Linked DNA regions of Homo sapiens: region 1 is linked to region 2. Evidence: promoter capture Hi-C in 16 types of primary human blood cells and fetal thymus (Javierre and others, 2016). All regions are on one chromosome and are shown on one strand. The core of a region is centred on a gene start or on the middle of the fragment in contact, and the rest is flanking DNA. Distances in the headings are between cores, read along the strand shown. Region 1 overlaps AMD1 (adenosylmethionine decarboxylase 1). Region 2 holds the start of GTF3C6 (general transcription factor IIIC subunit 6).

Region 1 (5,016 bases), core at 176-2,675, 81 kb before region 2:
CCCACTCCCACTGCGGGCCGTCACGCGAGAGATACTTGGGCTGACCGCGCCGAAGAGGCGTTTTAGTTGGTATTGCTGTGGAAATCCATGCTTATATAAAAGCCCAGAGATCCCGTGGATGCTTAGGCCTTGTTCCTGGCGGCGGTCGCACCGGTGGCCACCAATGGCCTTCCTAGGCCCTGCCACCGGATCCCTGGCTCCTCTGCGCACGAGTGCGGCTAGGGTGGCGGTGCAGCGGAGTAACTGGCGTGGCCAGCTTCATTGAGAGGCGGCGACCAATGGGCTCCTGGGCCGCACTCAGAGCCTGGCCCCAGGGTGTGGACCAATGGGCGTTTTAGGAGTGTTAGCTGTTCTTGGAGCTGTCCCTTGACAAAAAGCAACTGGAAAAGGGAATCCAGGCAGACACGTGCTACCGAGACTTTAAGGCACGACGGGAAACCCGGTTTCTAGCAGTGTATCTTGAACGATTCCATTGTAGAAAAAAATACTAGTCATAGCTAAAATGTCACACGTCTCATTTTTTTCAAGCTTCGTGTGACACTTAAAATGTCTATAGCGCTTACTACGTGCCAGGCTCACGTGAGATTATAGGAAGCGGACTTTGGTCATGGAGAAGCTTAGTATTTCCTTCATTTCACAGATGAGAAAGATGGTATTTGTGATAGACGTTTGGTAAAACGATTGTGATCAGGATAATTAACCTAGAAAATCTTGGCAAGAACCTAGAAAATCTTGGGTAAGAACAGTCCTAGAAAACGAATAACAGAAGTTGTCACTTTGGCTTTTTAAATGTTTGAGCCCTTAAATAATAGTAAGTACATGTTCTTAATAAAGGGAAGAAGATTTTGTTCTCCCCAAGTTCTTGGCGGTTTGGCTGTTTAGAGCTTCCTGAGTCAAAGTGGAGAGAGGAGGAAGAGGCTTTTTACAAAGCAGCCTGCTTTCTTTAAATGTTTAAGAACCCTTTTTACTTTGTACTTTAATCAGCCCAAATTGTTTTACTGCTCCAGTGTGGCTTTTAAAATCATGGCCAAAGTTAAACTTTGAAGGACAAAATATTCCCTTGTGTAGATGATTTAGTGCCATCCATTTTGTGGACATGTAACATTCATTGAACAACTATTGGTAGTACACTGCCACATTGTAACTGTTGTAGATAAAGCAAGTTAAGCAAGAACTGAAAAATATGTTGATTTAACTAAGGTCCCGTGATAACCTTCGTTGGAACATTTTTCAGTGACCACTCAAGTGGTTAGGTTATTTACCAGGATGTTTAAAAAAGCCTGAAATAGTAGGTGTTCCTTGAATCACCTAAAATCAACAGCCTAGCAAAGAGAGTATCATGGACGGAGTCCGGTCGGTGGGGACATGGGGCCAGCCCCAGAGACCCCAGGGAAGGATAATCGGTCATCTAGAAGAATAAAGCGTGACATGTTTTACTCAAATGACGTGATTAAGTGCATAGCCTCTGGAATAACAAGATTTGAATTCAAACAGCATTTAATAGCTGTGTGAGCTGTTTCCTCATCTGTAAAATGGAGACAATAATGGTACATAGCTCATGGAAGTTGTGAAGAATAAATAAGTTAATATGTTATATGTAGTACGTAAACTGTTATCTTTAACACTTTAAAGACAGGATCCCTCTATAGCCCAGGCTGGAGTGCAGTGGCAGGATCATGGCTCACTGCAGCCTTGACCTCCTGGGCTCTATTAAGATGTGAATAAACTAAAAGTAGGTTAAAAGATGAACAGATGGAATTAAACAAATCTGTTTATAAAGCATAATAAACATAGGGACATAAAAACGATTAAGAGAATGAAAGGCTTAAATGTCCAAAGAGAGCATTAGTATTGATGCTAAAGACAAGGATAACAAGATAAGGATATGAGGGAGAAAAAAATCCTGGAAAAATAGCTTTCCAAAACTAATGCAAGAAGAAATGGAGAACCCAAAACAGTCCTAGAACACCTAAATAACTTGAATCAGTCAATCATCTAGGCCCAGATGATTTCACTGGAGTGTTCTGTATAATTCAAGGGAGAAAATATCCAACTTTTTTCACGCATTCTTCTGGGAAACAACATACTTCCCTCGGTTTTCTCATCCCAAAGTCTGAAATATTTTTTTCTCCTACACGATATTTACCTTTCATATTTAGATCTGCAATCCATCTGGAATTGATTTTGTGTGTGGTGTGAGGGAATACACTTTAAACAAACTTGGCTCATCAGTCCAAGCTTTAATGCTTGGAATCTTTTCTGAATGTACACCTTTTTACTAAACACTGCTTCCCTCTTGTAGACCATTTAAGATATTTTATCTTAAGTGAACAAATTATGTAATACTGAGAAATTTAACAAAGAAAAATCTTTTATGATATAGCTTGGGTTAAACAATACTGTTGGAGAAAAGCAGCAGTCCAGGTATATCCAGATGAATAAAGGACAATTAAGGGAGAGGCGGTTTCTTAGGGGTAACCTGCAGTTTTCTCTGATTTTTCAGATTTTACGGATGTTGAATAAAAATCAGTGACCATTTAAAAAATGGTTTAGTTGTTGGATCAAAGTGCTGTAACAAACAAAAGCTTTTTATAAGACATGGCAGCTTTAGGGAGGGTGAGAGTAGTAAGAAGGAAATCTGTTAGAAAATAGAAAATTTTGCTGAGAAAAGAATGATTTTTCAGGACTGGAAATCCTATTACTGTGCTTTACTCAGATTTTATAAACTAAAACATAATTTTTAGTAAAGGATTGGGGCAGTTGTAAAGATAGTCATACCTCAGCTTAACTTTCCCCAAACTCATGACTTATTTGACTACATCATTATGCAGCATTATTGCAATATCAATAATTTACATTGAAGGAATTTACAACCCGTTGCCAAAAAACCTTTTAGTGTAATGTTTCAGAGTAGAAATGCTTCCTGCTAAAGAATAAAGCTTCTCGTTACATTCCTCCCAGCAGTTTCAAAAAGGTTTCATGGCTGGGCTTGGTGGCTCATGTCTAATCCCAGCACTCTGAGAGACCAAGGAGTTTGAGAGCCCAGTCTGGGCAACATAGTGAAATCCTGACTCTACAAAAAAAATTGAAAAATTATCTGTGCGTGCTGGTCCATCCTGGTGCGTGTCTGCATCCCAGCCACTCGGGAAGCTGAGGTGGGAGGATTTTTTTGAGCCATTGGGGGATCGAGGCTGCAGCGAAATGAGATTGCACCAGTGCGCTCCATCTGGTGGCAGAGTGAAACCCTCTCAACAACAACGAAAATATTTCAACTGTTGTTTACAAACCATGTATCTTTAAGAAGCACATGTTGAAAGTAGCAGAAAACTGAGAGGAGTATCCCGATTTGGGGTAAAAATTTGAGATAGAGAAACAATAATGTGATGATAATAGGTTCATATCTTTGAACAAAAGGGAGGAGGCTTATTTCTCAGGTTATCTGAATTCACTGCCGCAGGAAGGCACCCTCAGAATCTAACTTCTGGTCAGTCTAGCTTTACTCAAGAATGATCTGGTTTTAGGATGCCTTTTACCTAAAGACTGCTTACTACCTGGGGTAGAGGCACCCTGATGAATGTACTGTAATGAGAGCCTCTAAAACAGACCTAAAAATATGAGGTAAGAGCAGAATTGAGAAGCTGCAGTGACTTTGGATAAATTACCTGAACTCTGAAACCAGCTGGTTTTACATTAGGAAGTAATGAGTAATCTAATGACCTGGAAGCTTTTCAAATAAAAATTTGCAGGCATCATCCTCAGAAAGTGTCTGACCTAACTGGGTATGGGAATAGCATCTATGTATTGAGTTTTCAGGTGATTAGAGCATAACCCTGCACTAATGGGATCCTTCTGTATTTAAGTTCTTGGTCTTTTTTTTTTTTGGACAGTCTCAGTCACCCAGGTTCGAGTGCAGTGGTGCCATCTCAGCTCACTGCAACCTCCGCCTCCCAGGTTCAAATGATTCTCCTGCCTCAGCCTCCCTAATAGTGGGTACTACAGGTATGCACCACGATGCCTGGCTAATTTTTGTATTTTTAGTAAAAGACAGGGTTTCGCCATGTTGGCTAGGCTGGTCTTGAACTCCTGACTTCAAGTGATTGAGCCATCGCCCCTGGTCCCTTTGTCCATTTTTTAATCACTTTTTGTTGAGTTGTGTGTAGGTGTGTCTTTTGCTTTGGATATTGACCCCTTATGAGGTGACTTGCAAGTATTTTATTCTGTAGGTTGTCTTTTCACTCGTTTCTTTTGATGTATAGAAATGTTTACATTTTAGGTTTTCAAGTTCCATTTGTCTGTTTTTGATTTTATTGTATGTCATATCCAAGAAATCATTGCCAAATGTAATGCCCTGAAGCATTTACCCTATGTATTCTTCTAGGAGTTTTATTCGCTGTTAATGTTTAGGTTGTTGATCCATTTTGAGTTAATTTTTGTTTATGATGTAAGGTAAAAGTCCAACTTAATTTTGTTTGCATGTGGACATCCATTTTTTCCCAGCACTATTTGTGGAAGCGATGTTTTTCCCTGTTATGTAGGCTTGGGACTCTTGTTCAAGATAGTTGAGCTCAGTCATTTACTTCTTTTTTTGAGACACGCTTGTCTTGCTCTGTCTCCCAGGCTGAAGTGCAGTGGTGTGATTTTTGGTGCACTGTAGCCTCCGCCTCCTGGGTTCAAGTGATTCTCCTGCCTCAGCCTCACGAGTAGCTGGGACTACAAGCCTGCGCCACCACACCTGGCTAATTTTGGTATTTTTACTAGAGGCGGGTTTCGCTATGTTGGTCAGGCTGGTCTTGAACTCCTGACCTCAAGTGATCCGCCTGCCTCGGGCTCCCAAAATGCATTTAATCAGGCGACATAGAGAAGTCTTGTTATAATATAATTATCTTGTCCCTGTAGACATTTCTAAATTCTATTTTTATTAGACCTCAGCCTCTAAGAAAATGTTTTAAATATAAAATGTGGCATGCCACTAAAGTGTTGTTTTTCAGACATACAATTTGTGTGCTGTTATTAATA
Region 2 (5,272 bases), core at 1,826-4,325:
GGGCATGGTGGCTCACACCTGTAATCCCAGCACTTTGGGAGGCTGAGGCAGGTGGATCACCTGAGGTCAGGAGTTCAAGACCAGCCTGGCCAATATGGTGAAACTCTGTCTCTACTAAAAACACAAAAATTAGCTGGGCATAGTGGCAGGCGCCTGTAGTCCCAGCTACTTGGGAGGCTGAGGCAAGAGAACTGCTTGAACCCAGGAGGCAGAGGTTGCAGGGAGCTGAGACGGTGCCACTGCACTCCAGCCTGGGCGACAGAATGAGACTGTCTCAAAAAAAAAATTAAAATTAAAAATAAAAATTATTTCACAGATTTTATATACACGTGTTTTTGTAAACACACAGAATATCTTTGAAAGGATATAAAAGAAACTGGTACAAATGGTTGGGGGACAGGTGTAGAAGGCTCACTTTCTGGCTGGGCGCGGTGGCTCACACTTTGGGAGGCCAAGGCAGGTGGATCACTTGAGGTCAGGAGTTCAAGGCCAGCCTAGCCAACATGGTGAAACCTGTCTCTACTAAAAATACAAAAATTAGCCCGGTGTGGTATCGTACACCTGTAATCCCAGCTACTAGGGAGGCTCAGACACAAGAATTGCTTAAACCCAGGGGGCAGAGATTGCAGTGGGTCAAGATCACGGCACTGCACTCCAGCCTGGGCGACAGAGCCAGACTCCGTCTCAAAAAAAAAAAAAAAAAGGAAAAAAAAAAGCTCCCTTTTAACTGTGTATTCTTTTGTAAATCATTAAAAGTAAATAAAAATAATTACTTCATAAATACCAAACAATAACTTTTGCTAGAAGTATGAGGCTTGTTTATTTTAAAGGGACATCTTGAGTTATAACACACTAACCTTTCAAAACACACATATTTTCATTCCTCAAGCCTTTGTTTCTGCTGTTCCCTCAGCTTGGATTATCCACTCCTCCTTACTCTCCCCACATCTCCCTCAAAATCTGACAATTTATGTAATTTTTCAGTTTACCAAGTATTTTTAGATATACGATTGAATTTTTGCTTTCCAAGCAAAAAAGACACAGTAAGTATTATTATTATTTTTTGAGACGGAGTCTTGCTCTGTCGGCCAGGCTGGAGTGCAGTGGCACAATCTTGGCTCACTGCAAGCTCCGCCTCCCGGGTTCACGCCATTCTCCTGCCTCAGCCTCCGGAGTAGCTGGGACTACAGGTGCACACCACCATGCCCAGCTAATTTTTTTGTGTTTTTAGTAGGGACAGGGTTTCATCGTGTTAGCCAGAATGGTCTCAATCTCCTGACCTTGTGATCCGCCCGCCTCAGCATCCTAAAGTGCTGGGATTACAGGCTTGAGACACCGCACCCGGTGTTAAGTATAATTATTTTCATCCTCATATAATAAATAAGAAAACTGAGGTTGGAAAACTTCACAATTATTAAGCTTCAGAGCTAGAATTGAAATGTACTTCTAACAGGTCCAGTGTTCCTTCTACTTTTTTAAGCTATGAAATCCTATACATTTAATTAGGCAACTGGACAAAAATATACACAAAAGAGTGTTATTTACAATATCCACAAATTGTAAATAACCTATGTGTTAAAAAATAGAGGATCAAGTTATGGCACACTCATACAACCATTATGTAAAGACAGGCGCTGTGGCGTGCACCTGTAGTCCCAGTTACTCAGGAAGCAGAGGTAGGAGGCTCCCTTTGAGCCCAGGAGTTTGAGGGTACAGGGAGCTACGATGGCGCCACTGCACTCCAGGCTGGGCGACAGAGCCAGACCCTGTCACAAAAAAGAAAGGAAAGAAAGAGAGAAAGAAAGAAACAAACAATGAATAAAAGAAAGAGAGAAAGAGCATCATACTAAAAAATTTATATATTACTACTAATAATAGATTAAATGCACTTTAAATGCTTACTATGTGCTGAATACTGGGCTAAATTTATTTTATATGTATTGTCTCATTTAATCCTCACAACCACCAATCTGCCCAAAGCCTTGCTGTTAATAATGCAGCAGAACTTGACTGGTATTAAAATCCAAAGCTCAGGCTGGGGACGGTGGCTCACACCTGTAATCCCAGCATTTTGGGAGGCCCAGGCAGGGGGATCGCCTGAGGTCGGGAGTTCGAGACCAGCCTGACCAACATGGAGAAACCCCGTCTCTACTAAAAATAACAGAATTCGCCGGGCGTGGTGGCGCATGCCTATAATCCCAGCTACTCGGGAGGCTGAGGCAGGAGAATCGCTTGAACCCGGGAGGTGGAGGCTGCAGTGAGCCGAGATTGCACCATTGCACTCCAGCCTGGGTAACAAGAGCAAAACTCCATCTCCAAATAAATAAATAAATAAAAATCCAAAACTCACGATCTTAACCACTAGATCACGCTATCGCAAGTACGAAGACCGTTTCTTTCACAATCACAAACATCTATGGGATACTTCTGAAAATTCTGTTCAAACTTCTCTTGCCCAGGTCTCTGTGTTCCTATAACAATGTGTATCTCTTACAGCACTTGCTTGGATCCATTTATGTACCTCTCACAGATCTTATGCTCCTGCAGGCCTGAAACTTAAGCCCACTTTCTATTTTTCATAGCTCCTGGTGCAGTGCTTTTTACTGTGTAGGCGCTCATTAGTATTAAACTGAATGTGCCTTTAACTTGGCTTGGGGTACGTTGAATTGAGGATGAGCGCTCACACAATATTAAGAATTTCTTTCCAAGAAATGTGCTCGGGTCAAACACAAGGCCTTTCTGTCCATGATCCGCCTGAAACCATGGTTTCCTTGTTTTCGCCTTTATCCCTTCTGCCTTGCCAGTCCTCCCCGCCAGCGGGGCCGAGAGCCCGGCGACTCTTGCGTGACCGAGCGGGCTCCGCTGCCTACGGCAGCCCACCCCCAGCCCCTGCTCTGAGGCACCGAGAAACGAGGAGGCCCGTGGCGAGTCTCCACGTGGGTACCGGCGCTCTCGGCGCCCGTAGCCACCCGCCCGCCGGAAGCCGACATCTCGAGTTCTGGCAGAAGCAATTTGCGCGGCGAGGAGCGGAGCGGCAGGAACCCAATAAGCTGCTTCGCCTCGGAGCTGAAGCCCGTACTCAAGATGGCGGCTCCGGGCGGGCGTGGCCAGTGACTAGAAGGCGAGGCGCCGCGGGACCATGGCGGCGGCGGCGGACGAGCGGAGTCCAGAGGACGGAGAAGACGAGGAAGAGGAGGTAGTAAGCGCTACGCCAAAAGCCTGCACCGCAGTGGCGGTGATGCCTGTGCTGGCTGTGTGTGGGGAAGGGAGTTGGGGAGCTGCGGGCCGGAGGGAGGCCCCACTGCTCCTCACCGGCTTCTTGCTCCTGGGCGCGAGGAGCCGGGCAGCTTGGGACCTTAGCCCTAATCGTCACCCCGTACTTGGGATGGGAAGTACCGGGAAGTTACCTTAGGTAGCGTAGTTTCCTCTTGCTGAAAACAGGGTCCGGTTTTCACAAATGTGGGAAATTTGGCTTCTTTTGCTAATTGCTCCCTCTTGGCCGCTCGCGTGCTAGCATGTTAACCCCTCTTTCTTTCACCAGGAGCAGTTGGTTCTGGTGGAATTATCAGGAATTATTGATTCAGACTTCCTCTCAAAATGTGAAAATAAATGCAAGGTTTTGGTGAGTTTTCTAGACTTGGGGGGATTGTTCTAGAGTGTCTTAAATGTAAAACAAGAATCAATGGTGAAATACCTATCCGCAAGTATTGATATATTTATTTCACCTTACAAAGTAGTGAACTCTAAGGATAAGAAGTATACTAAGTATAATTAATTAATATGTAATTAAGTATAATGTAGAAGTACAGCGGGGACTATGGGAGCAGATAGGAGAAAATGGCTAACTTTGCTTGCCTGTTTGAATGTGTGGCTGAAGAGAAAGTTACAGATTTGGAGGAAGTAACATTGTGATATGGAACCGTACATATATTCCTGTATTCTCAGCACTTTGGGAGGCAGAGGTGGGAGGATCACTTGAGCCCAGGAATTGGAGACCATCCTAGGCAACATAACGAGACCCCTTCTCTAAAATAATAATAAAAAAAAATGGCCAGGCGCGGTGGCTCACGCCTGTAATCCCAATACTGGGAGGCCGAGGCGGGTAGATCACGAGCCCAGGAGTTCGAGACCAGCCTGGCCAACATGGTGTAACCCCGTCTCTACTGAAATACAAAAATTAGCCAGGCATGGTGGTGGGCGCCTGTAATCCCAGCTACTCGGGAGGCCGAGACAGGAGAATCGCGTGATCCCTGGAGGCAGAGGTTGCAGTGAGCCGAGATCGCGCCACTGTACTCCAGCCTGGGCAACAAAGGGCAAAACTCCATCTCAATAAAAAAAAAAAATAATAATAATAATAAATTAGCTGGGGATGGTGGCATGCGCCTGTGGTCCCTGCTGCTCAGGAGGCTGAGGTGGGAGGATTGCCTGAACATGATCATGCCACTGCATTCCAGCCTGGGTGACAGAGCTAGACACTGTCTCAAAAAATAAATAGATGACAGATAGACTCTTTGCACTACTGTTGACAAAACTTCCTCTGTTTTTAGCTTACTCTTGAACAGGATGTTGATTGAAATAAACCTTGTTACTTGAGTATGAATTAAGTAGTCTTCAGGTTGTAACTGCTGTGATCAGAGCAGTTGTAGTTTATCCTGTACTTGGTAGGACAAGATGCTCTAGAGGTTCCCCAGTTTTGGAGATTAGTTTCCTTGGTAGCAAGGTTACAATGTTGAAGCCTTTTTCTAATTATGTTTTTTTTTTATGATCCTTTATTCTGTTGTAGGGCATTGACACTGAGAGGCCCATTCTGCAAGTGGACAGCTGTGTCTTTGCTGGGGAGTATGAAGGTAGGAGGATGTCAGATAGATGGAACTCTTTCTGATATGGGCTTTTCAGAGATGGTAGCTCTTCTCAACAATTTGCCTTTGTATTTTTCTGCAGACACTCTAGGGACCTGTGTTATATTTGAAGAAAATGTTGAACATGGTAAGTGATTGCTAGCCCAGCCCTTTTTAATACGAACTATTTCAATCATACTTAAGCATAATAAATATCTCATGTATCCACTGTCTAGCTGTATCATATCCTATCATTTTCCCAAACGTGACTCAGATTATAGTTAAAAAAAAAAAATGCCAGGCTGGGCCAGGTGGCTCAATCCTGTAATCCCAGCACTTTGGGAGGCCAAGGCAGGCAGGTTACTTGAGGCCAGGAGTTCGAGACCAGCCTGGCCAACATGGCAAAACCTCATTTATACTAAAAATACAAAAAT

The links. The method cuts DNA at HindIII sites, captures the fragments that hold promoters and counts their contacts. A CHiCAGO score of 5 or more calls a contact.
Region 1: a contact is called between a fragment that was not itself captured here and the fragment with the promoter of GTF3C6 in region 2, in 3 of 17 cell types (megakaryocytes, M2 macrophages and M1 macrophages). The highest score is 10.5, in megakaryocytes.

Annotation. Positions count from the first base shown.
Region 1 is chr6:110,876,100-110,881,115 of GRCh38, forward strand. All of the region lies in intron 1 of AMD1 (adenosylmethionine decarboxylase 1), which reads left to right. Among named protein-coding and RNA genes, the nearest start is that of AMD1, 3.8 kb to the left of the region's middle. RefSeq lists an enhancer at 1-538. The HindIII fragment of the contact is 1,622 bases long and covers 615-2,236 here.
Region 2 is chr6:110,955,631-110,960,902 of GRCh38, forward strand. GTF3C6 (general transcription factor IIIC subunit 6) reads left to right here and starts at 3,076. Exons shown (of 6, transcript NM_138408.4): 1 at 3,076-3,196; 2 at 3,542-3,622; 3 at 4,784-4,847; 4 at 4,942-4,986. The coding sequence starts at 3,140. RefSeq lists an enhancer at 2,949-3,398. The HindIII fragment of the contact is 8,604 bases long and covers 1,418-5,272 here.